3 separate regions of the Homo sapiens genome follow, and all the other regions are linked to region 2. The links are contacts of gene promoters, found by promoter capture Hi-C in blood cells and fetal thymus (Javierre and others, 2016). All regions are on one chromosome and are shown on one strand. The core of a region is centred on a gene start or on the middle of the fragment in contact, and the rest is flanking DNA. Distances in the headings are between cores, read along the strand shown. Region 1 overlaps BAALC (BAALC binder of MAP3K1 and KLF4). Region 2 holds the start of CTHRC1 (collagen triple helix repeat containing 1). Region 3 overlaps BAALC (BAALC binder of MAP3K1 and KLF4).

Evidence for each region. The method cuts DNA at HindIII sites, captures the fragments that hold promoters and counts their contacts. A CHiCAGO score of 5 or more calls a contact.
Region 1: a contact is called between a fragment that was not itself captured here and the fragment with the promoter of CTHRC1 in region 2, in 1 of 17 cell types (megakaryocytes). The highest score is 5.0, in megakaryocytes.
Region 3: a fragment that was not itself captured here is called in contact with the fragment with the promoter of CTHRC1 in region 2 in 1 of 17 cell types (M1 macrophages); the score reaches 5.1 in M1 macrophages.

What each region holds. Positions count from the first base shown.
Region 1 is chr8:103,178,118-103,180,817 of GRCh38, reverse strand. The region is part of intron 1 of BAALC (BAALC binder of MAP3K1 and KLF4); the gene reads right to left. Among named protein-coding and RNA genes, the nearest start is that of BAALC-AS1, 7.3 kb to the right of the region's middle. The HindIII fragment of the contact is 6,749 bases long and covers 1-2,700 here.
Region 2 is chr8:103,370,171-103,372,870 of GRCh38, reverse strand. It overlaps CTHRC1 (collagen triple helix repeat containing 1), which reads right to left and starts at 1,333. Exons shown (of 4, transcript NM_138455.4): 1 at 1,065-1,333. The coding sequence starts at 1,214. RefSeq lists enhancers at 85-878, 879-1,673 and a silencer at 1,330-1,449. The HindIII fragment of the contact is 4,990 bases long and covers 1-2,700 here.
Region 3 is chr8:103,221,730-103,224,429 of GRCh38, reverse strand. All of the region lies in intron 2 of BAALC (BAALC binder of MAP3K1 and KLF4), which reads right to left. Among named protein-coding and RNA genes, the nearest start is that of BAALC-AS1, 51 kb to the right of the region's middle. The HindIII fragment of the contact is 1,100 bases long and covers 701-1,800 here.

The DNA of each region.
Region 1 (2,700 bases), core at 186-2,685, 190 kb after region 2:
CTTGGTTCATTTTCAATCCTATCTATTTTCACACAATCATTGCTTTACATCTCAACTTGTTCTCCTCCTTGCCTGAAAGGGTTTCCCCAAGGAAGGCTTGCCTGCTGAATCCCAAAGAACTGGCGGGCAGCATCTCCACTTTGCATCTTGCTCTGGCCCTTATTTTGTCTAATCCTCTCCCTACATCCTTCTGGTCCCTGTTTTCCAGTTTCTCTCTCCCTGGTGAGTCACGAGGAACGAGGCAAGGGCTTGAAGGATGCTAAAGTTGGAAGCCTCCTTCCTGTAACTGCCACAACATGTGAGGTTGGTGCTTTGGATGTAAAATATCTTGGAAGCAGCTCCTGTGCCAGCCAGACCTGGATTCATGCTCTGCCAAATTTTTGTTCTGAGTCCTAGTTCCAGTCCCTTTCCTCTCTGAGGCCAAGCACGTGAGCCTTGCAGGGTGCAGCCAGCCAGGAAGTCCCAGATTCAGTTCCTGGGTGCCATTCATGCAGTTAGATTTCTGGAAACCATAGTGACCACTAACAGTAAACCACGGGCACCACCATGCTCTCAACACTGCTGTGATTTTACCCAGTTGTTCTCTTCTTCCTGGAACTCTAGTTGTCTTAATTTCTCCATCTCAGAATTGCATTCCTCCCACTCGCCCACCCTGTCCTATCTTTGGCCTGATCTCTTGGCTATAAATCTGCTCCTTTCTTCCACTTGTTCTTCACAGCTCCCCATTTCTGCACTCCCCCTGCTTATCATTGTCTTCTGGGCCTCCCAGTAATCCCAGAACCTGGCCCAGGCCTGCACTGTGGGCAGATTCACTTTTGGGCCTCACATTCCCTCTGCGCCAGGAACAACAACTTCCCTCTGCAATGAGTACAACCACCTCTCTTTGATCATGGAGCTGGGAACTCTGGTCCTCATCAGACTCCCTTAGGGCTTATCCCTGAGACTCTAAGGCCATCACAGCCTTCATCCTCAGCCTGCACTACTGAATATCCCTCCCACAGTAATTATTTGCCTACATCCTTATCTCCCCAGGAAGACCATCAGTGCCTCAAGAGCAGGACCTCGTGTTAGCCATCACCTGGCTGTGAGCCCAGCGCAGGGCCTGGCACATAATTGGTACCCACAAAGTTTTAAAGACTTCATAGTGACTGCTTCACATCCATTTGGAAGAAGACAGGATTGAATTGGACACACCCACATGAACTAGCTATGTGACTTTAGCCGAGCCATCTCCACTGGTATTCCTCAGCTGGGAAACAAGGAGGGTGAAGCAGGCCTAGAAAATCTCTAAGGATCCTGTTCTGCTAAAAGTCTGTGACTCCGCATAGAGCACATTGTGCTTCTATTCAGCACAGTGACCCTCCAAATGGTAGTTTTATTTGTGAAGAACAATTATCCAGAGATTGGGATAATGCAGAAAAGATGATTAACGTTATGCTAGGAGCACTTCCCAACAAGCTCACCTAAAGGTGTTCTGGGGCTCCTACCCAGCATGACTTTACCCCCAGTGGACATGTGGAGATGTTTCAGCTGTAGAGGCCACACATGCTACTAAACATCCTACAGTGCCCACGACAGCACCCCCAACAAAGAATTATTTGGGCCCAAAATTTCCATAGTGCTGGAGGCATTGAGAGATCCTGGCCTAGAGCGTGCAACTTGGTTTGCACATTTGATTAGGGCCAAACAGTTTACAATTCTGAGAACTGATCATGCATGATGAGTTTCTTTTCTGTCTGATAGAGAAGAGAACCCCAAAGACTATGGGTTTGGGTTTTGTGGAATTTTTTTGTTTTTGTTTTGTCCTTTAGGATGTAACTAGTTTTGTATTTAATTTAGCAATCTTATCTCAGCTTTCCTTCTTTCCACCAACTATTTTTAAAAGTTTCTCATATTCCCTTTTGTTCTGAGCCATTTATTTATTTTGTTTTTAAATTAACTTTTTTTTTTTTTTTGAGACAGAGTCTCACTCTGTATCCCAGGCTGGAGTGCAGTGGTGCAATCTTGGCTCACTGCAACCTCTGCCTCCTGGGTCCCAGTTCAAGCAATTCTCTTGCCTCAGCCTCCTGAGTAGCTGGGATTACAGGCACACGCCACCATACCCAGCTAATTTTTGTATTTTTAGTAGAGACAGGGTTTCACCATGTTGGCCAGGCTGGTCTTGAACTTCTGACCTTGTGATCCGCCCACCTCAGCCTCCCAAAGTGCTGGGATTACAGGCGTGAGTCACTGTGCCCAGCCTAAATTAAACTTTTTATTTCAAAATCATCTATAGATTGTTGTAAGAAATCGTACAGAGTGATCTGTGTGCTCTTTTCTAATTTCCCCCAATGGTAACATCTTACAGAATTGTAGTACAAGATCCTATCCAGGGTACTGACATTGGTACAATCCACCCGTCCTATTTAGATTTCCCCAGGTTTAATTTGTACTCATTTGTATATTTGTACTTAATCCTATATGATTTTATTACATGTGCACTTTTACTTATCCACCACTGCAACCAAGATACAGAACAGCTCCATCACCACAAGGATTCTTCATGTCGCCCTTCTGTTAATCACATTCTCATATTCTCTTTTGAGCTGACTTTATCATCCAGCTGTGACCCTCATCAATGAGTTAAAAAGATAGTGATACCTGCTCACTATTTATTTGTATGATAATTAAGTTTTTAACATTTTGAGAAATATACTTTGA
Region 2 (2,700 bases), core at 84-2,583:
TCAAAACTTTCTTTTTAATTAAAAAAAAATGCCCCAACTTATGTCTTGCAATGCCTGTAAATCATGTTTGTCTGCAAGTGAGACTGAAGTTTATAATATGCCAAGGACTACGGTAGCTCTGAAAGGCTCCCTCATACCACAGGCCAGAGAACCTCTCCGCCCTCCACTGGGTTTGTTGATTTTTAGAGGGAAGGATTTTAAGCAAACATACCTTCCCACAGATGAGCCCCTGGAAAGCACTCGGGCCGTTCATTTCCAGTTTCCTGGAAACTGTTTTCTCCCGTAGCTTGACTGTGATGCTCCTACCTGGCGGCCACATATGAAGACCCAGGGTGTGTGTAATGACAGACTGCCCATTTGGTTTAAACAGAAGCAAAACAGGTCCTTAGAGGGTTAGCGCCGGGCCCCTTCATTTCCCTTTCCGGCCTTAAACCTTCTGAACCATTCCTAGCCCCAGCTGTGGTTGTCCAACAAAGTAAATTGCAGCCCATACTCCCTAGGAAGATGACCCAACGTGACTCATAGTCTTCAAGTTACAAAGAGTTGGACGGATGCTTTGTGGGGGTTGTTATTCTCTCTCGCAGGCAGACGTGGCCACCAGCCCCAACAAAGGACACGTTGCACCGCCCTGGCCCAGGCCCAGGTCCATGTGATCAGCGAGGCCAGGGTTTTTCCCAGGTCCACTTCGGACGTACCCAAGCTCCTCATCCTACTCTCACTGCCGCCCTATCCCTCCCACCCTTCCCAAGGGGTCCCCCTGGGGCCAGAAATTATTGGGGGACTCCCTGTACTTCGGGGAGACCCACCGGGCCCATATCGCATGTCCGCTCCACGATGGCCTCCCATTTTGGTCTCCCCTCTGAGTTCCAAGACTCACTGCACGCATAACCAGGTCCTTCTTCACCTGTAAATAAAAAGCATGACACCCCGGCGCAGCAAGACACACGACACACAGCTGTACAGACAGACACCCCCAACAGCCAGACTGACGCCCTGCCCGTGGGGCGCGCGGCCAGGTCCCCTCCACCAGCGCGGCGGTCCCGGCTCGGCTCCCTCGGACTCACCAGGTCCACCACCTCCCTCTGCCGGAGCTGCGCCTTTTGCTTCCCCTTGGGGATCTCAGAGGCGCTCGACGGCGCGGGCAGCTGCAGCAGCAGGAGCAGCAGGAGGCCGCGGAGCCGCTGCGGGGAGGCGGCGGGGCCCTGGGGTCGCATGGCTCCCGGCTGCCGGGCAGCGCGGAGCTGGAGGCGGAGGAGACCGAGGAGAGGAACGTGGTCAGCGTCTGGCTCCGCCGCGCTCCGAGGCCGCCGCAGGCTGCATCAATGCGCCTTTCACCCGCGCGCCTCTCTCCCTCCCTTAATTCCTCCCGCCCCCGCGACACCCGGAGCTTCCATCCCGTAATAGGCCCCGAGCCCCCACCCCGAGCCCGGCGTGGGGGCGGACCGAGAGCCGGGCCCGCCCCCTCCTACTGCAGTCGCTCGGCCTGTCAGGACCCCCGCGGGGCTGCGCAGACCCTCGTGGAGAGCCCGCCTGCAGGGTCTGGGCGGGGTGGCCCGTGGTCAGGAGCCGCAGGTCGGGGATTCCCGCAGGTAACACAGCGCCGCCTAAATGAACATTTTAGAGACACGTGGCTTAACCTGGGTACACGAGCCACCTTCAAGGGTCGTCAATCTATGGCATGGGTCGGCGAGTCTTATTTGTTTTTTGTTTGTTTGTTTGTTTTTGAGACAGAGTCTCGCTCTGTCGCCCAGGCTGGAGTGCAGTGGCGCCATCTAGGCTCACTGCAAGCTCCGCCTCCCGGGTTCACGCCATTCTCCTGCCTCAGCCTCCAGAGCAGCTGGGACTGCAGGCACCCGCCACCACGCCCGGCTAATTTTTTTTTTTTTTTTTTTTTTTTTTTTTTTGAGACGGAGTCTCGCTCTGTCGCCCAGGCTGGAGTGCAGTGGCGCGATCTCGGCTCACTGCAAGCTCCGCTTCCCGGGTTCACGCCATTCTCCTGCCTCAGCCTCCCGAGTAGCTGGGACTACAGGCGCCCGCCATCACGCCCGGCTAATTTTTTGTATTTTTAGTAGAGACGGGGTTTCACCGTGTTAGCCAGGATGGTCTCGATCTCCTGACCTCGTGATCCACCCGCCTCGGCCTCCCAAAGTGCTGGGATTACAGGCGTGAGCCACCGCGCCCGGCCCCGGCTAATTTTTTATATTTTTAGTAGAGACGGGGTTTCACCGTGTTAGCCAGGATAGTCTAGATCTCCTGACCTTGTGATCCGCCCGCCTCGGCCTCCCAAAGTGCTGGGATTACAGGCGTGAGCCACCGCGCCCTGCCTTATTTGTTTTTTGGAGGTGACATTTTTGGAGGCTGGAAGGTGGGGGTGGGGCGGAGGCAGGAAGAAACCATAGGTATCATCAGGTTTTCCAAGAGTCCCATGACCCAAATGATATATAAACGCTGTTTTCATAAGTGCTAACACTTACTAAGCTCTGGCACATTGCAAAACCTTGCACGCGTACTCTGTCCTCTCAGCAATCCTGGCGGGTTGGGAGGGGTAGATGCCTCCTGGGCTACTCTCATAAACGAATGAGGAAACTGAGGCTCAGGGAAGTTAATCAATATCCAGTGGAAATGGTAGAAGTTCACTTTTGAGTACTCTTTGCCTCTGATGGATATTATCTTTTTGTAACCCCCTCTGTCCTCCTTTGG
Region 3 (2,700 bases), core at 1-2,500, 150 kb after region 2:
ACCCGCCCACTCTGCTTTGAGTTGTCCTGCCTTTCTGAGCCAAACCAATGTATTTCTTAAATGTATTTGATTGATGTCTCATGCCTCCCTAAAATATATAAAACCAAGCGCTGTGCCCCGCTCACCTTGGGCACATGTTCTCGGGACCTCCTGAGGGTGTGTCACGGGCCATGGTCACTCATATTTGGCTCAGAATAAATCTCTTCAAATATTTTACAGAGTTTGACTCTTTTCATCAACAGTAGTTACTTCATTTTCTGAGTTCACATTGGACTGCCCCATGCCTGCTAAACACACACACACACACACACACAGACGCACGCAGAAGCACATGCACATATGCACACACGCACAAAGCGTTGTGAAGGAAAAGAAGGCAGTGATTCTGTTTCCTAAAGAAAACCGTGGTAATTATGAGACCAATTCCATCTGACTTCCATTCCGGGTGTCACTAAATAGCTTTGAGGACTGGGGCATGGAATAGAATGCAGAGGCCTTCTTTAAAGTGAGCTAAATTGACTGTAGCATTCCCCTCAAATTGGTGGGAGGTAAGAGGGCTTTCCAGAATGGAAATGGAAATGTTCCAAACTGCAGAAGTGCTTTTCTTTAGAAAAGACTGTTGGTAAGATTTCACAAAAGTTTATTAAAGATGATACACAGATGATACAAAGCTCTTTATTTCAGTCTGTACTTCTAAGCTTAAAAATCTAAGCAAAAAATCCAGTAGTTGGATTTCCAAGCCTATTTAAGAGGCTACAAAGTAGTCATTCCTATAACAGCCACAGATATATATATATAATTGTAATCCCAATTACAATAGGGTCATTTCTTAAATCTGTATATCATAAGCCTGCACAATAGAAATATTCAGAGCACAAACTTTGGGGCCAGATAGATCTGGACATGGAGCAAGCCTTTGCTACCAGTTAGCTGCAGCAAGACATGTTGCTTTGACATTTGACTCAGTTCTATTATCTGAAAAATGAAGGAAATAATGCCTGCTCTTTACTTTTCTTTGAGAGAATTAAGTATGTCACATAACATTGAGAGGGTTACCAACTTCTCCTAGTTTATCCTGGTTTATCCAGGGCCGATAAGTTTTGTTTGTTTGTTTTGTTTTGTTTTGAGACAGTCTCTCTCTGTCACAAGGCTGGAGTGCAGTGGCTCAATCTTTGCTCACTGCAACCTCTGCCTCCCAGGTTCAAGAGATTCTCCTGCCTCAGCCTCCCGAGTAGCTGGGACTACAGGCGTGCACCACACCTAGCTAATTTTTGTATTTTTAGTAGAGACGGGATTTCATCATGTTGGCCAGGCTGGTCTCGAACTCCTGACCTTGTGGTCCACCCGCATCAGCCTCCCAAAGTGCTGGAATTACAGGCGTGAGCCAGCCACCACGCCCGGCCCGCCAAAAAGTTTTAAAACTAAAAGTCCCACATCCCAGAAACCTACTCAGGCCCCAGCAAACCAGGACGGTTAGTCACCTCAATTATAGCTATTAACATTAATTTTATTTGTAAAAAGATGATGTCAGTCAAACAGCAAATTAAAATATAAAGCCTCATTATACTGAAACGATGACTACTGCTACTACTACTTCTAAATGGCAACAACAATAACTCTAAAAGTTGTGCTTCCAGATAAAGGACAAACTAAAGTTCTGTAACTCCCATGATATGGGCTCAAAAAGTTCCAAGCCGTAAACAAATCCACTTTCAAATAATGACACTGTATTTAAGTTAGCAAATTAAATAATTAGAACAACAATGCATTTTCTCAGAAATGTTTTATGAAAGAGAAGCTTTTGAATTTGAGACATTGCCGGAAAAGTACCCAACCAAAAGCAGTCGTGAGGATGTTTAAGAGGTTGGTAGTCGTTGCAATTGAGGACTAAACTCTGATTTTTTTATCTTGCCCAAATTCCTATCTAAGGGGCCTGGGGAGTCATAACCTACAAACCATAAATTCTCATCAGATAGGTTTTGTTTGACCCTGTATATTGTGTTTTACTTTCCAGTCTGACTCTGGCATAACAAGGAAGAAAATCAAAATGTTTTACCCCAAAATATATTTTCTTGACATATCTTGAAATTGCCCCACAGAGTCTCTTGTGGGAAAAATCCACATTCTATAGAGAATCCTTTTTCCTCTGTTTTCCTTCCTTCCTTCCCAGATCCAGGAGATAATCAACTAAGAGCCAGCCACCCCTATAAGTCTGTAAAAAATTTACAACCTGCTCTCTCTATAGTCTGCCATCTAAGAGCTTCCTCTACACAATAAAACTTGGTCTCCACAATCCTTTTTCTTAACCTGAACATTCCTTTCTGCAGATCCCAGGTCTTTAGACAAACTCAACCAGAAAATGTTTAAATTTACCTATAGCCTGGAAGCCCCCCACCCGCCACCTGCCCACTTTGCTTTGAGTTGTCCTGCCTTTTTAAACCAAACCAATGTGTTTCTTAAATGTATTTGACTGATGTCTCATGCCTCCCTAAAATATATAAAACCAAGCTGTGCCCCAACCACCTTGGGCACATACTCTCAGGATCTCCTGAGGGCTGTGTCATGGGCCATGGTCACTCATATTTGGTTCAGAATAAATCTCTTCAAATATTGTAGAGTTTGACTCTTTTCATCAACACAATCTAGTTACATCTCAAAAACCTTAGATTTCAAGCCCAAGCAAGAGAGAGAAAGAAGATG